Regions from separate parts of the Homo sapiens genome. Here region 2 is linked to region 1. The links are contacts of gene promoters, found by promoter capture Hi-C in blood cells and fetal thymus (Javierre and others, 2016). All regions are on one chromosome and are shown on one strand. Each heading gives the region's core, a stretch centred on a gene start or on the middle of the fragment in contact. The rest is flanking DNA. Distances are from core to core; before and after follow the strand shown.

Region 1 (6,070 bases), core at 428-2,927:
CTGCAGATCGACCCCAATTTTGGCTCCAAGGAAGATTTTGACAGTCTCTTGCAATCGGCTAAAAAAAAGAGTGGGTATCCTGGGGTTCCCAAGGAAACAGCTAGAAAGGACTTGGCCAGAGGAAAAGTAGGCTAGAACTTTTGTCTGGTTTCCTGCTAACTGGCTCTGAGTTTTCCTAGGGCAGGTAGAGGGGAGATTTGTTAGTCTTCAGCCTAAAATGGATTTGTCCAGTCGTCTGGGGGCTTTCTACTTGGCTGTGGAATCTTGAGCAGGTCATTTAACTTCTGGGCTTCAGTGCCCTTATTTGCAAAATATAGATATTTACTAAACCAGTGGTTTTAAACTTGTAAAACAGTAGGTTTTTTTGGGGGGGGGGAATCCCAAATATTGTTTTACGACTCGATATAGACACATGTTTAAAAAGGTTCACTTTGGGAGTGGGGAACACAGGGGCCACTTCTCTGCACTATAAACTTTCTGCCTTCCAATATCTTTTTTTTTTTTTGAGATGGAGTCTCACTCTTGTCACCCAGGCTGCAGTGCAGTGGAACGATCTCAGCTTACTGCAGCCTCCTCCCCCAGGGTTCAAGCGATTCTCGTGCCTCAGCCTCCTGAGTAGCTGGTACTACAGCCGTGTGCCACCACACCCAGATAATTTTTTTATTTTTAGTAGAGACAATTTTCAACATGTTGACCGGTCTGGTTTTGAACTCGCCTGGCCTGCCTTCCCATATCTTAAGGCCCTTCCTTGCTCACATCTGTTTCAATGGAATGAATTTTGCCCGGGTTCAAATTCAAGCTTTTGTACCAAGTAATACATAGGAAACACTCAGTGACTTGCATTTGTGATTTCCTTATTTTCCCTTAACTCATAGACTGTCTCATGATTGCGTCTTCCTCCGTTGTTTTAGGCATCCGTGTCATTCTGGACCTTACTCCCAACTACCGGGGTGAGAACTCGTGGTTCTCCACTCAGGTTGACACTGTGGCCACCAAGGTGAAGGTGAGTGTTGGAGCTGATGGCTGGTGGAAGTCAGATGCTGGGGCTGGGACAGTCCTTTCACAGCAAGCCCTGTAGACCCAGCCTGACTCCAGCTGAGGGTCCCTTTGCTCCTTAGGACCAAGGAGGAATGCCTCCTCCTATAGCCAAAGGATAGGCCAATAGCACACCTGTTTTTCTTGTTCCTTTTCTGACCTCTTATTTTTCTTATTTCCTTGACTCTGAGGATGAGACAGTGCCAGGAAGGGACCTTCTCAGAAGTCAGTCTGGAAGTTTGATTTTTCTTTCTTTTGGGAGAGGAAGCCCTTTCTCTGTGAGAATCCTGTCCTGACTGGTTTCCCAGTTCTTGTTTGATGTGTTTGGAATAGAGCCCAGTCTGAAATTATAAGCACTGGGGTACTCCTATGTGTCTGGGACTCTATGCCAAGTATTTTATAGATGTTTTCTAATTCTCTGTATAACCATACAAGGTATATAATTTGCCATAGGTTCAAATGTGTACCCAGCAGGCTAGGAGTAGGGCTTTGAATGTCACCTAGCTCCTGATGTCTGGGTCCTAGGACACTGACCTGTTCAGAATGGGTAGAACAAAAATGGAAGCAGATACTGACACTGCTGGTAGCTGTGATTCTAAGATAGAATTCTGGACTCCCAGCATTTGGGTAGGACCCCGGGATCATCCAGTTTAGGCCTTGCCAGTTACTAGGGGACCCTTTAAAAGTTGCTGATGAGGGAATGTTTTTGGATGGTTTGGCATGAGGGGCGGTACCCTCAGATGGAAATGGAGACCAGAGGAGAGAGTACATGGCCCAGAGAAAGGGAAGAAAAGGAGAATGGGGGTGAAGTTCCACAGTGTGTGCAGGACTGCCAGGATTCCATTCAGCAGCACTGGCCTCTTTTCAAATCTAAACTGCCCTGGGGCTATGCTTTGAATTTCAATCTTTCATCCTTGGCCTTGCTCTGAGCAGTTATTGTACTCACACCTTCCCCAGGCCTCAGGAAACTGGGAGAGGGGGGATCTTGACTGACATTTTAGATCCTGTCTGCTGCTCACTGATTATGACTGTGGACGCGTCTCCCTGCTTCTCTGGGTCTGTTTCTTCATCTCTAAAATAGGTATGCTAACATTCCAATGCTAAGTGTTAAACGAAGTTATGTTTATGGACATACCTTTTCTCTGGGGCCTTTTCTGTGGCTTTCAAAGTTGAAGCTGTGTGATTTGCCAGAGGCAAGAATGAGAAGTAAAATGCTGTAGCACTAAGAAAATGAGTGGAAGGGTAGAGCTGGAGGGGTCCAAAGGCTAAGCCTTTGTAGTGCAGGTGGGGAAGACCCAGGCAAGGCACAGGACTCTCCCCAGCTCCCGGGGAAGTGTGTGGTGGGTGAGGTTTAGTGTGGGCTGGAATTTTCTGAGCCTTTTCCTGAGAACTGATGTCTGTCCTTTATTCTTCTGCCCCCTATAGGATGCTCTGGAGTTTTGGCTGCAAGCTGGCGTGGATGGGTTCCAGGTTCGGGACATAGAGAATCTGAAGGTGAGTTCCCTTTCCACATTAGGGACAAAGCTTGGGCGAGAACAGAGGGACTCAGCTAGAGCCTCATAATATTCTCTGGTCCTTGATTCTGCTTTTTTCTTTCTAGGATGCATCCTCATTCTTGGCTGAGTGGCAAAATATCACCAAGGGCTTCAGTGAAGACAGGTGGGTGCAGGAGCCATTCTGCTGACTCAGCTCCAATGTGGGAACCCCTCAGTGGAGTGCTAGGCCTAAGAAGGGGGGATTCCTAGTCTAGAGCATTTTCTTTACCTTTATTCTTTCTTTAGCTTTTTTTTTTTTTTTTTTTTTTTTTTTTTTTTTTTGAGATGGAGTTCCGCTCTTTTTGCCCAGGCTGGGGTGCGATGGCGTGATCTTGGCTCACTGCAACCTCTGCCTCCTGGGTTCAAGCGATTCTCCTGCCTCAGCATCCCAAGTAGCTGGGATTACAGACGCGGGCCACCACACCTGGCTAATTTTGTATTTTTAGTAGAGACGGGGTTTCTCCATGTTGGTCAAGCCAGTCTCGAACTCCTGACCTCAAGTGATCCACCCGCCTCAGCCTCCCAAAGTGTTGGGATTACAGGCGTGAGCCACTGCGCCTGGCCCCATTCTTTCTTGTGCTAACCTTGAACTCCTCCCTCCCCTCTGCAGGCTCTTGATTGCGGGGACTAACTCCTCCGACCTTCAGCAGATCCTGAGCCTACTCGAATCCAACAAAGACTTGCTGTTGACTAGCTCATACCTGTCTGATTCTGGTTCTACTGGGGAGCATACAAAATCCCTAGTCACACAGTATTTGAATGCCACTGGCAATCGCTGGTGCAGCTGGAGTGTGAGTACCATGCTGGTGGGAAAGGGGGCAGATGGGAGAAGAAAGGGTTGTTGGGAGACAGAGGCAGAGGTGGGTTATGGGGCTCACTGGAGTGTCTCTCCCTGTAGTTGTCTCAGGCAAGGCTCCTGACTTCCTTCTTGCCGGCTCAACTTCTCCGACTCTACCAGCTGATGCTCTTCACCCTGCCAGGGACCCCTGTTTTCAGCTACGGGGATGAGATTGGCCTGGATGCAGCTGCCCTTCCTGGACAGGTACTGCTTGCTGTCTTTCTGTCACAGGGAGGTTGTTTATCCATCTTACAATGATGATTCTGGGGATGGCGGCACATAGACGTGAGCCTTGGGGTGAAAACGCGTTTGATTCTTAGTCAGTAGCTGAGTGGCTATGTGGCTTTGGGCAAATTATTTTACCTTTCTGAATTTTGGTCATCCCTTGTGTTACTGCATTTCTTGAAGGGTGGTTAGTATTAAATGAGGGCATGTTTTTAATGGTAATGCCTGGTACCTGGCAGATGTTTGCTATGGTAGCCACCATTCATTTATTCATTCCTTTATTCTTTGGACAGTGGGTACTGTGCTAGGCTCTGTGCCCTCAGGAGCTCATAGTTTAGTGAGGGAGCCAGATAAATAAGTGGAGAAGTACATGGCAGTGGCTGGGCACGGTGGCTCATGCCTGTAATCCTAGCACTTTGGGAGTCCAAGGTGGGTGGATCACTGGAGGTAAGGAGTTCGAAACCAGCCTAGCCAACAGGGTGAAACCCAGTCTCTACTAAAAATACAAAAATTAGCCAGGTGTGGTGGTGCACGCCTGTAGTCCCAGCTACTGGGGAGGCTGAGGCAAGAGAATCGCTTGAACCTGGAGGCAGAGGTTGCAGTGAACTGAGATTGTGCCACTGCACTTTAGCCTGGGCGGCAGAGGGAGACTCCTTCTCCAAAAAAAAAAAGAAAAGAAAAGAAAGAAAGAAATACATGGTAGGGATACTACTACAAAGGCATTCACTAGCTTTAGATACAGGGTTACTGTTGATCCCCGACTTTTTTTTTTTGTTTGTTTGTTTGTTTTTTGTTTTTGTTTTTAAGACAGCATTTCCCTATGTCGCCCAGGCTGGAGTGCAGTGGCATGATCTTGGTTCATTGCAGCCTCCGCCTCCCAGGCCGAAGTGATCATCCCACCTCAGCCTCCTGAGTAGCTGGGATATGTACCATAGATAGGTGCGTGCCATCATGCCCAGCTGATCTTTTTTTTTTTTGGAGACAGGTTCTTGCTCTGTTGATCTGGCTGGATTGCAGTGGTGCGATTATGTCTCACTGCAACCTCTGCCTCTTGGGTTCAAGTGATACTCCTGCCTCAGCTTCCCAAGTAGCTGGGAATACAGGTGGTCTGGGAATACAGGCACACACCACCATGCCCGGCTAATTTTTGTAGAGACAGGCTTTCACTGTTGTTGCCCAGGCTGGTCTCCAACTCCTGGGCTCAATCGCTCTGCCTGCCCTGATCTCCCAAATTGCTGGGACTACAGGTGTGAGCCACTGTGCCTGGCCACAGCTAATTTTTAAAATTTGTAGAGGTGTGGTCTCACTATGTTGCCCAGGCTGTTCTCAAACTCCTGGGTGCAAATGATCCTCCCACCTTGGCCTCCCAAACTGCTATGATTACAGGTGCGAGCCACTGCACCCGGCCATCAGCATGATGTTTATAGAACCAGTTATTCATTTATTCCACAGATGTTTATAGAATAATTTCTGTCTGTTACACTGAGGATACAGCATTGCACAAGAGAGCTGGAGGTGGTTAGATAATTAGATATGCATAAATAAAACGCCAGCTGCTGATCAGTGCTATGCAAAAGAAGGCGGGGTAAGGAGCCTAGAGACTAGGGGATGATGGGGCTTGTTTTATAGAGAGTAGCCATAGGAGACCTGGTAAGATAACCAAGCAGATACCTGAGGGAAGTGAGAGAGCTGGCTGGCAGCCATCTGGGAGCTCTTGGCTGAGGGGCAACAGTGTATGTGTGAGGACCCTGAGGTGGGAGCCTGCCTCACTCATCCAGTAGAAGTTAGCCAGGCCGGGTGTCGTGGCTTATGCCTGTAATCCCAGCACTTTGGGAGGCCAAGGTGGGTGGATCACCTGAGGTCAAGAGTTCGAGACCAGCCTAGCCAACATGGTGAAACCCCGTCTTTACTAAAAATACAAAAAAATTAGCTGGGTGTGGTGGTGCACACCTATGGTCAGCTACTGGGGAGGCTGAGGCAGGAGAATCGCTTGAACCCAGGAGGCAGAGATTGCAGTAAGCCAAGATCGTGCCATTGCACTCCAGCCTGAACAGAGCGAGACTCCGTCTCAAAAAAAAAAAAAAAAAAAAGTTAGCCAGACATGAGTTGGGGAGGTTATATATTGATGAGGATGTGAATGGGAAGAGGGATACGGGACAGTGGGCCCAGGGCTTTTTTTTTGAGACAGGGTCTCACTCTGTTGCCCAGGCTGGAGTACAGTGGTGGAGTCATGGCTCACTGCAAGCTCAAACTCCTGGGTTCAAGTGATCCTCCCTCCTCAGCCTCCCCAGTATCTGGGACTATAGGGATGTAACACTACACCCAGCTAATTTTTAAAAATTTTGTAGTAGAGATGAGGGCTCATTATGTTGCTGAGGCTGGTTTCAAATGCCTGGGCTCAAGCAATCCTCTTGGCCTTGACCTCCCAGACTGCTGG
Region 2 (6,437 bases), core at 3,901-6,400, 340 kb before region 1:
GTGTTGGCAACATCCCATGCCTGGGGTCTCATTCAACTCCCAAATGATGATGCTATGTCAAAAGAATTAATATCCTTATTTCAGAGAAGTGAAAGCAGGCCCAAGAGATAAGATGACTTGCCCAAGTGTGAGACAGAGTTGAAATGCAAGCCCAGGAGTCTCTGACCCCCAAGGCCCTTGTTCCAAAGGAACAAGGGTGACATCCCTTCCAGGGCCTGGCCCTCTGAATGGACCCCCGAGGATGCAGCTGCCAGGCTTGTTTAGGAAAAAACATTATGCCACATTCTAACCGGAGCAGAAGTGCGCAGACATCTCAGAGTCTAAGCTGGCATTAACAACTTTTACAAACCCACCTAGCTGATTCTGGGCAGTGTGCAGGGAGGAGGGGCAGGTTAGGGAGGTGGAATTACCAGGAAGAATTAGATGAACATGTTGCAAAACACATGCAACTTGGGCACCTTCAAAGAAAGGCACACAAGCACACACACACACATACACACCATTAGTACACGGAGACCCTCAGCCCCATTCTCCACTCTACACAGCCCAGGGCAGCCTGCAGCCCCAGCCAGCCTTCACCGGCTCACAATAGACAGTTGTCCTGCAGGTCCCTATGCCTGTTTACCTGGCACCTGTGTCCCTTGAGCCTGCACCTCCCCTTGTGTGTGTGCACCTGCCTGGCCTCCTCCCTGCTCCCTGCCCTTAGGAGAGGGAGGCGCCAGCCCAGCCACAACTCCCACCAGGAGGAAGTTTTTCCATCCTTGTCATTCCAGCCCTCCCCTCCCCATCACCCCCTTCCCCTGGCCCCTCACATCATGCTGACTTCCAGGGCAGCCCTTACACCCCAACCTCAGCCAGCTGGTTGCTTTCTGACTCTGCTGTGACGCCTTTCTCCATCTCTCTCTACCCCAGCCACGCACAGCCCCATCCCATGCTACAGTGAGCTTGGAAGCCCTGAAGCTCCAAGCTCTCACTTCCAGCAGCGAGGGAGATTCCCTCTTCCCTCCCTGGCCAGGAGGGACTCTGCAATCCTTGTGAAAGGGGGCTGGGGACAGCCTATGATCCAGTGGGGAGTCCCCACACCTGGACACAGAAGCAGGGAAGAGTGGGCCTTTACCCAGAACCACTGGGATTAAGACACCAACTCTGAGGGTGGCGTCCTATAGGAGAGGGGGTGGAGCAGAACGCTTGGTCTTGCCCTGTGGGGTAGATTACAGTTTGGAAGCTGCCTGTCTGCCCCACCCAAGGCCGGGATCTGGGGAGGGCGCTGCTTGCTCTCCCCCCAGCGGTCGGACCACGCTACTGCAGGGGCGTGGGGCCAGGCCGCTCCGGCTCTGTCGCTGAAGAGCTACCCCCGAGCCCCGCCAGGACACGTAGCTGTAGACGGGATCAGCTCCAGGCACTTCCCCTTCCCCCAGAACCTCCGCTCCAGCCCCCGGGGGACCGGGCAGGATGCCCCTCCCTGACAGGCCGTGTGCAGTGCCTTGCTTAGCCTGCTCAGCTGGGGCCTGCACCCCCAAGGCTGTCCTCAACCTCCCAAAGGCTTCTGGACACAAACTGCGCGTGCGGACATGTCCAGGACCGAGAAACTCACTTCAGTCCTTACCTACAACCCCTACGGGCCCGCAGGAAACCTCCACCACCAGAGCAGAATGCCACTGCCATCCTCTGCCTCCAAGCCCGATGACAACGCAGGCAGAGGTGACACATCCAGGCACGCCACAAGGGGAAGACCTTCATTCACAACCAGTGGGATACTCTCTCACAGGCAATGACACACATCTCACTCAGAGACAAGCTGTGACATGGTGGTCACAAGGACCTAAAGCCACAGTGGGACGACACCTGCAATGCTATCAGTGACCTACCTAAGACTGCCAGCGACAGCTCAGCCACAGCCCTGGTGGGAACTGAGGCCAGCAGGGAGGAAAAGGGGCTTCATTCCTTCGGAATCCTCTTGTGGCCCACCCACGTGCCCCCCACACTCCCTCGGGCACACCCAGGAACGCTGGAAATTGCTCGTGCTCAGGAAGCCTTGGGAGTCCCACCGGATGGCCTGAGCCCAGGGAAATGCCAGCCTGGATGAATCGATGGGGGACGAAGAGAAGTCAGAAGGCCCTCCATCCCTGCCACTGCCACCGCCCAAGCAGCACATTCTAAATCCTCCCCAGCGGCCATCACCCTTCCTCAAACCTAAGCGTGCACAGCACGGTGCCAGCCCAGCTCCGGGGAGAGAAACTTTGGGGCCTCGGGAATGGTGGGGGAGAGAGCCACACTGTTCCCATAAGGAGTAGGACTAGCTCTCCCGGTCTGTCTCTCTGTCTGTCTCCAGGCAGTTCCCAAGTTCTAAAGAAGGTGGTGACCACACCCCAGAGCCCCACACACCCCTCCGCCCCCACGGCTTTGCCCCAACCCCTCAAACCAGCTCCTCAGGCTCAGGGTGACCGGCTCTGCCAGGACCCACCAGCCAATTCCAAGTCGAGCAAAAGAATCCAGCCTGGCAGCACCGCCACCTTTCCCCAGGACTTCCTGAGGGCTAAGATGACTCCGGGGACCCCCAGCCAACTCCGTACCCTGGGCTGACGCTGGACCTTCTCCCTCAACAGGTCCCTGTGTCCCACCCCTGGCCCTGGACCATGTCTGGCTGCCACAAGTCCTCAGCTCCGAGGGGTTGGCTCCTCAAGGAGTTCCCGGACCAGGACCCCTGAATCGCTGCTGTGGGCCTCCATATCAGCCCGCATGACTTATGTGGCTCCCCATGTGTCCCTGTTCTCTGACCAGTGTCCCTGTGCATAACCTCTTAGGGACAAAGGCTTTAGAGAGGGGCTCAGACACCCTCTAACCCACATTCCCACAGCCCCCAAACCCTGCGACCTCTCCTAGCTCCACTCTTACCCTCCCTAGCTCCTCTCCCACCCTCCCTCACCCCAAAGCTCACAGCTCAGAGCAAAGAGGTGCCCCTAACTTGGGGGCTCCCCTGTCCTCCCCATTCTGCACAGGCCACTATCCACGCGGTGGGGGGTGGGTGACCCCGCTGTCCCTAAGGACTGGAGAAGGAAGCTTCCCCCCATTCAGCTTCTGAAAGGAAGTGAGTGCCACACCCTGCCCCTGGGATTTCCCTCACGGGGAGGGGATGAAAGCGAGATCTCTACCCTGAATTACAGCCAGTATAGGTGCAGGGGCCCTTAAACGCCTTCCCCCACTCTCAGCTTCACTGCTGCAGCCCCTCACTGTATTCCACAAAATCAACCCAACACCTACCATGCACTAGGCTGTGCTGGGACGGGCAAGCAGAGAGCAGGAGCCCTGCAATCCGAGGTTGGATTCTAATGAAGACGGGTTCGAAACCAGTATTTACTGAGCGCCCAGCGCTGTGCTGGAGACACAGAGGTAGATATCTCGGTCCCTTTTCCTCCGGAGACTCCGGAGGTCTAAGGACCTGACTGACTTGGGAGGCTCCCACACTGCCTTTCCACAAATCCCCTCCACAGAGCAGGGCACTCTGCAGCGACCGCACGCTCCCTGGGAGCACCTCACTGCCACGGTCGCCGCGGCGGGAGCCACACCCTGCGAAACCGGCAAGCACACACATCGCACACAACCCTCAGTGGCCTCATTGTGCAGAGGGGCCAGAGCCGTTCCCCACCTTGTTGTGGGGCCTCGGCTACAGCTGAGAACACCCATCTGCCCCCTCCGCACCCCTCCCAGCAAGGGGCACAGCCAGCCCTGTTTGGGCCCCTGGAGTCCCTCATGGTCAGCGCCGCCAAGGGGCTGCGCCCCCACATCCCGGCCTGGGCACTGCTGGGGGGCGACCAGCCCTGCCAGGGACGGCCCAGGCCCTCGCACACTGCACACACACACCCCCTCCCCTTGCATGGGAAAGCCTTACATAACACAGCTCTGCACACACCCTAAGCACGCTGCCTTTCCAACTCTAGGCGAGACCTCGCTTCGGGCCCCCTCTCCTGGCGCGCACCGCTGGAGCGCAGGGTTCCAGCGAGCGCAGCTTAGCCCTCCTCCCACGCCAAGCCCGGCTCCTGCCCCCAACTCCCACACACAGCCCCTTCCTCCTCCCCTTTGCCCCTCACCACTCCTCCCTGAGTTCTGGTTTGAATTAGTCACCGGCTCCAACCACCACATTCCTCAGGCTGCTGGCGCCGGGCCAGGCTCTGGGGCGGGGGCCATCCCGCCCGGACGGGTTTGGGAGTTGGGCGGGGGGAAAGCGCCGCCTCCGGAGGGGAAGGGGCGGTCCCGAGGACTGGGCCGCCGCAGCGCACCCCCCTCCTCGCCCACCTCAGCATAGGAATCTCCCTAATTTTGTCCCCCTCCCCACCCATCCCGCTGGGAGGCGCATTGCAAACTTCCAGGTTCCGCGGCCCGAGAGGAAGGTTTTCTGGAGCGGGGAACGCGGAGAGGCAAGGCTAGGGCGGGGCAGCTGGAGGAGGCTGAGGGGCTGGTGGTACAGAACAGGGTGGGGCCTGGACGACTCGGGACGCGGTTAGGGGCAGAGGTGCAGGGAGCGCGGAAGGACAGCCGAGGGGGCGCACGGTGCGGGGTCGCGGAGGCGCGGAGGCGCTGGGGGCCGCGGTGGCGATCTCGGAAATTTCCCCTCCAGTAAACATGGGATACGAACGGAGCAGCCCCCGAGCCACCGCCCCATGCAGGGAGAGGAGGTGGGACAGAGGCCACCAGGCCCGGAACGGGGCGCCCTGCCTTGCAGTGGAGCCAACAGTCCGCCCTCCGGAGAAATAAAGAGTGGAGCAAAGCACTTCGGAGCGATTTTCCAACTTTAACCAACTTGCGCCCCAACTCCAGAGGCAGAACTCCGCTCCCAGAGAGCGACGCGTCGCCGCCCCGGGTGGCCCCGCTTGCTCCAAACTGCTTGAATCCTCACAGTGACACCCCCAACAACGCGCCCTGCCGGAGCACCGCAACCCACCTCCCCGCGACCCGCCCTTGGTGCCCCGGACCCCGATGGCGCCACGGTGCGCCTGGCGCCCCTACCTGAGGGCTCAGCCCCAGGGCACGGCCATAGCCGGCGCGAGGCCCAAGGCTGCGGTGCTGCGGCTACTGGCGGCGACGAGCCCCGTTCCGGGCGGGTCTGGCAGGGCGGGCGGTGCAGTCCCCGCGGCAGAGCAGCTCCGAGTGGCCGGGCCCCCGTGCGCGGAGGCGGCTCTTGTAACTCCGGCTCGGGCGGGCGGGTCTGCCCGGAGCTGTGGGGAGAGGGCGGGGCCGGGCGGGGCCGGAGCGGGGCTGGGACTGGCGAGCGGGGCAGACCCTGGAGGGACCCGGGAGTGGGCTGCTGGGGAGGGGGGCCGCTGGGGGACGCGGGGACATTCTTTCCCCCCCTCCCCGCATCCACTGCCCCCTGTCCTGTCCCGGACCTGGACCTGCTCTCCAACATGTGCACTGTGTGGCTTCATTGGCAAGAAACTCCTGCAGGCTCCCTGGGCTCACCCTCACAGCTGGAACTGCGAATCAACTTATTTTGCAGGAAGGGCCTGGGGGCTCTGAAGGTGGCTGGGTGATTCAGCCGCGACCGTCAGCTTGCTCCGGACCTTTGAGTTTTCTCTCAGCTTAGGCAACTACACTTCAGATCCCAGGCCCCAGCCTCCTTGCTTGGTTCCCAAGCTCCGTGCTGCCGCGCCCATTTCTCGCGTTCTCTCTTTCTGGGGGCCCCTCCGTCCATATCCGCACAGAACTGGCTTGGATTTCCACCCCCCAGGAGCCGGGGTCACCAGTGCCTCGCGCACCGCGGTGCTGCGCAGGCCGCGGGCATACGGGGGTGAGGACCCCGGGCGTTGGACAGCGGACCCGACGCCCACCTTCCTCTCCAGACTCCCGCCCCCAGGAGCCAGAGCCCCAGCGCTTCCTCTGCCTCCCATTCCTTCTCTGAGCGCCGCCCCCGCCTCCCCACTTGCGGGACGCTGAGTCTCCTAATTTACAGCGATTTCCCACAGCCACTTCTAACTACATCGAGATTTTATTAAACGTTTAATGATGGGGTGCGGGGGCCTTCTGGCTACACACTCCCCTCCACACTCCCTTTCTCTTCTCCCTCATGAGTCCTTTTATCCTCCCTCCTAGGTGGCCACCCACTGCCCGCTCCAAGCCAGTTTCCCCTCCTTCCCAAATGCTAAGGAAAGAGAGACCCCAGGCTGGGGAACTAAGGAGACCTGGCCAAGGCAGGAGCGCCCTCCTTGCTGCAAGATCATGAGTGGGCTGGAGCTGAGACCAGCTCGGCCCTGTCCTCTGAAATGGCAAACATGTTTACAGGCTAAAAATACCCAGCAGTCAACTCTGCTGCCAGCCCTGGGGGCTGTGTCCAGGTCCAGTTACCGGCACAGAGTACAGGCCGTGGGGGAGGGAAGAGACAGCCAGAGGAACCACAGACATGGGCACTCATATAATGGACACAGAAAGGTGGAGCCGCATGT

The links. Contacts are between HindIII fragments. The CHiCAGO score rates a contact against its expected background, and 5 or more counts as called.
Region 2: the fragment with the promoter of AHNAK here is called in contact with a fragment that was not itself captured in region 1 in 3 of 17 cell types (naive B cells, naive CD4 T cells and total CD8 T cells); the score reaches 6.2 in naive B cells.

What each region holds. Positions count from the first base shown.
Region 1 is chr11:62,881,997-62,888,066 of GRCh38, forward strand. SLC3A2 (solute carrier family 3 member 2) reads left to right here. Exons shown (of 9, transcript NM_001013251.3): 2 at 1-70; 3 at 912-1,003; 4 at 2,461-2,529; 5 at 2,636-2,694; 6 at 3,181-3,361; 7 at 3,469-3,612. Among named protein-coding and RNA genes, the nearest start is that of SLC3A2, 4.1 kb to the left of the region's middle. RefSeq lists an enhancer at 1-375. The HindIII fragment of the contact is 1,760 bases long and covers 798-2,557 here.
Region 2 is chr11:62,541,656-62,548,092 of GRCh38, forward strand. AHNAK (AHNAK nucleoprotein) reads right to left here and starts at 5,151. Exons shown (of 5, transcript NM_001620.3): 1 at 5,005-5,151. RefSeq lists enhancers at 1,025-1,154, 3,658-4,168, 4,169-4,679, 5,258-5,788 and silencers at 3,823-3,952, 4,483-4,602, 4,613-4,662, 4,943-5,012, 5,133-5,302. The HindIII fragment of the contact is 5,633 bases long and covers 3,059-6,437 here.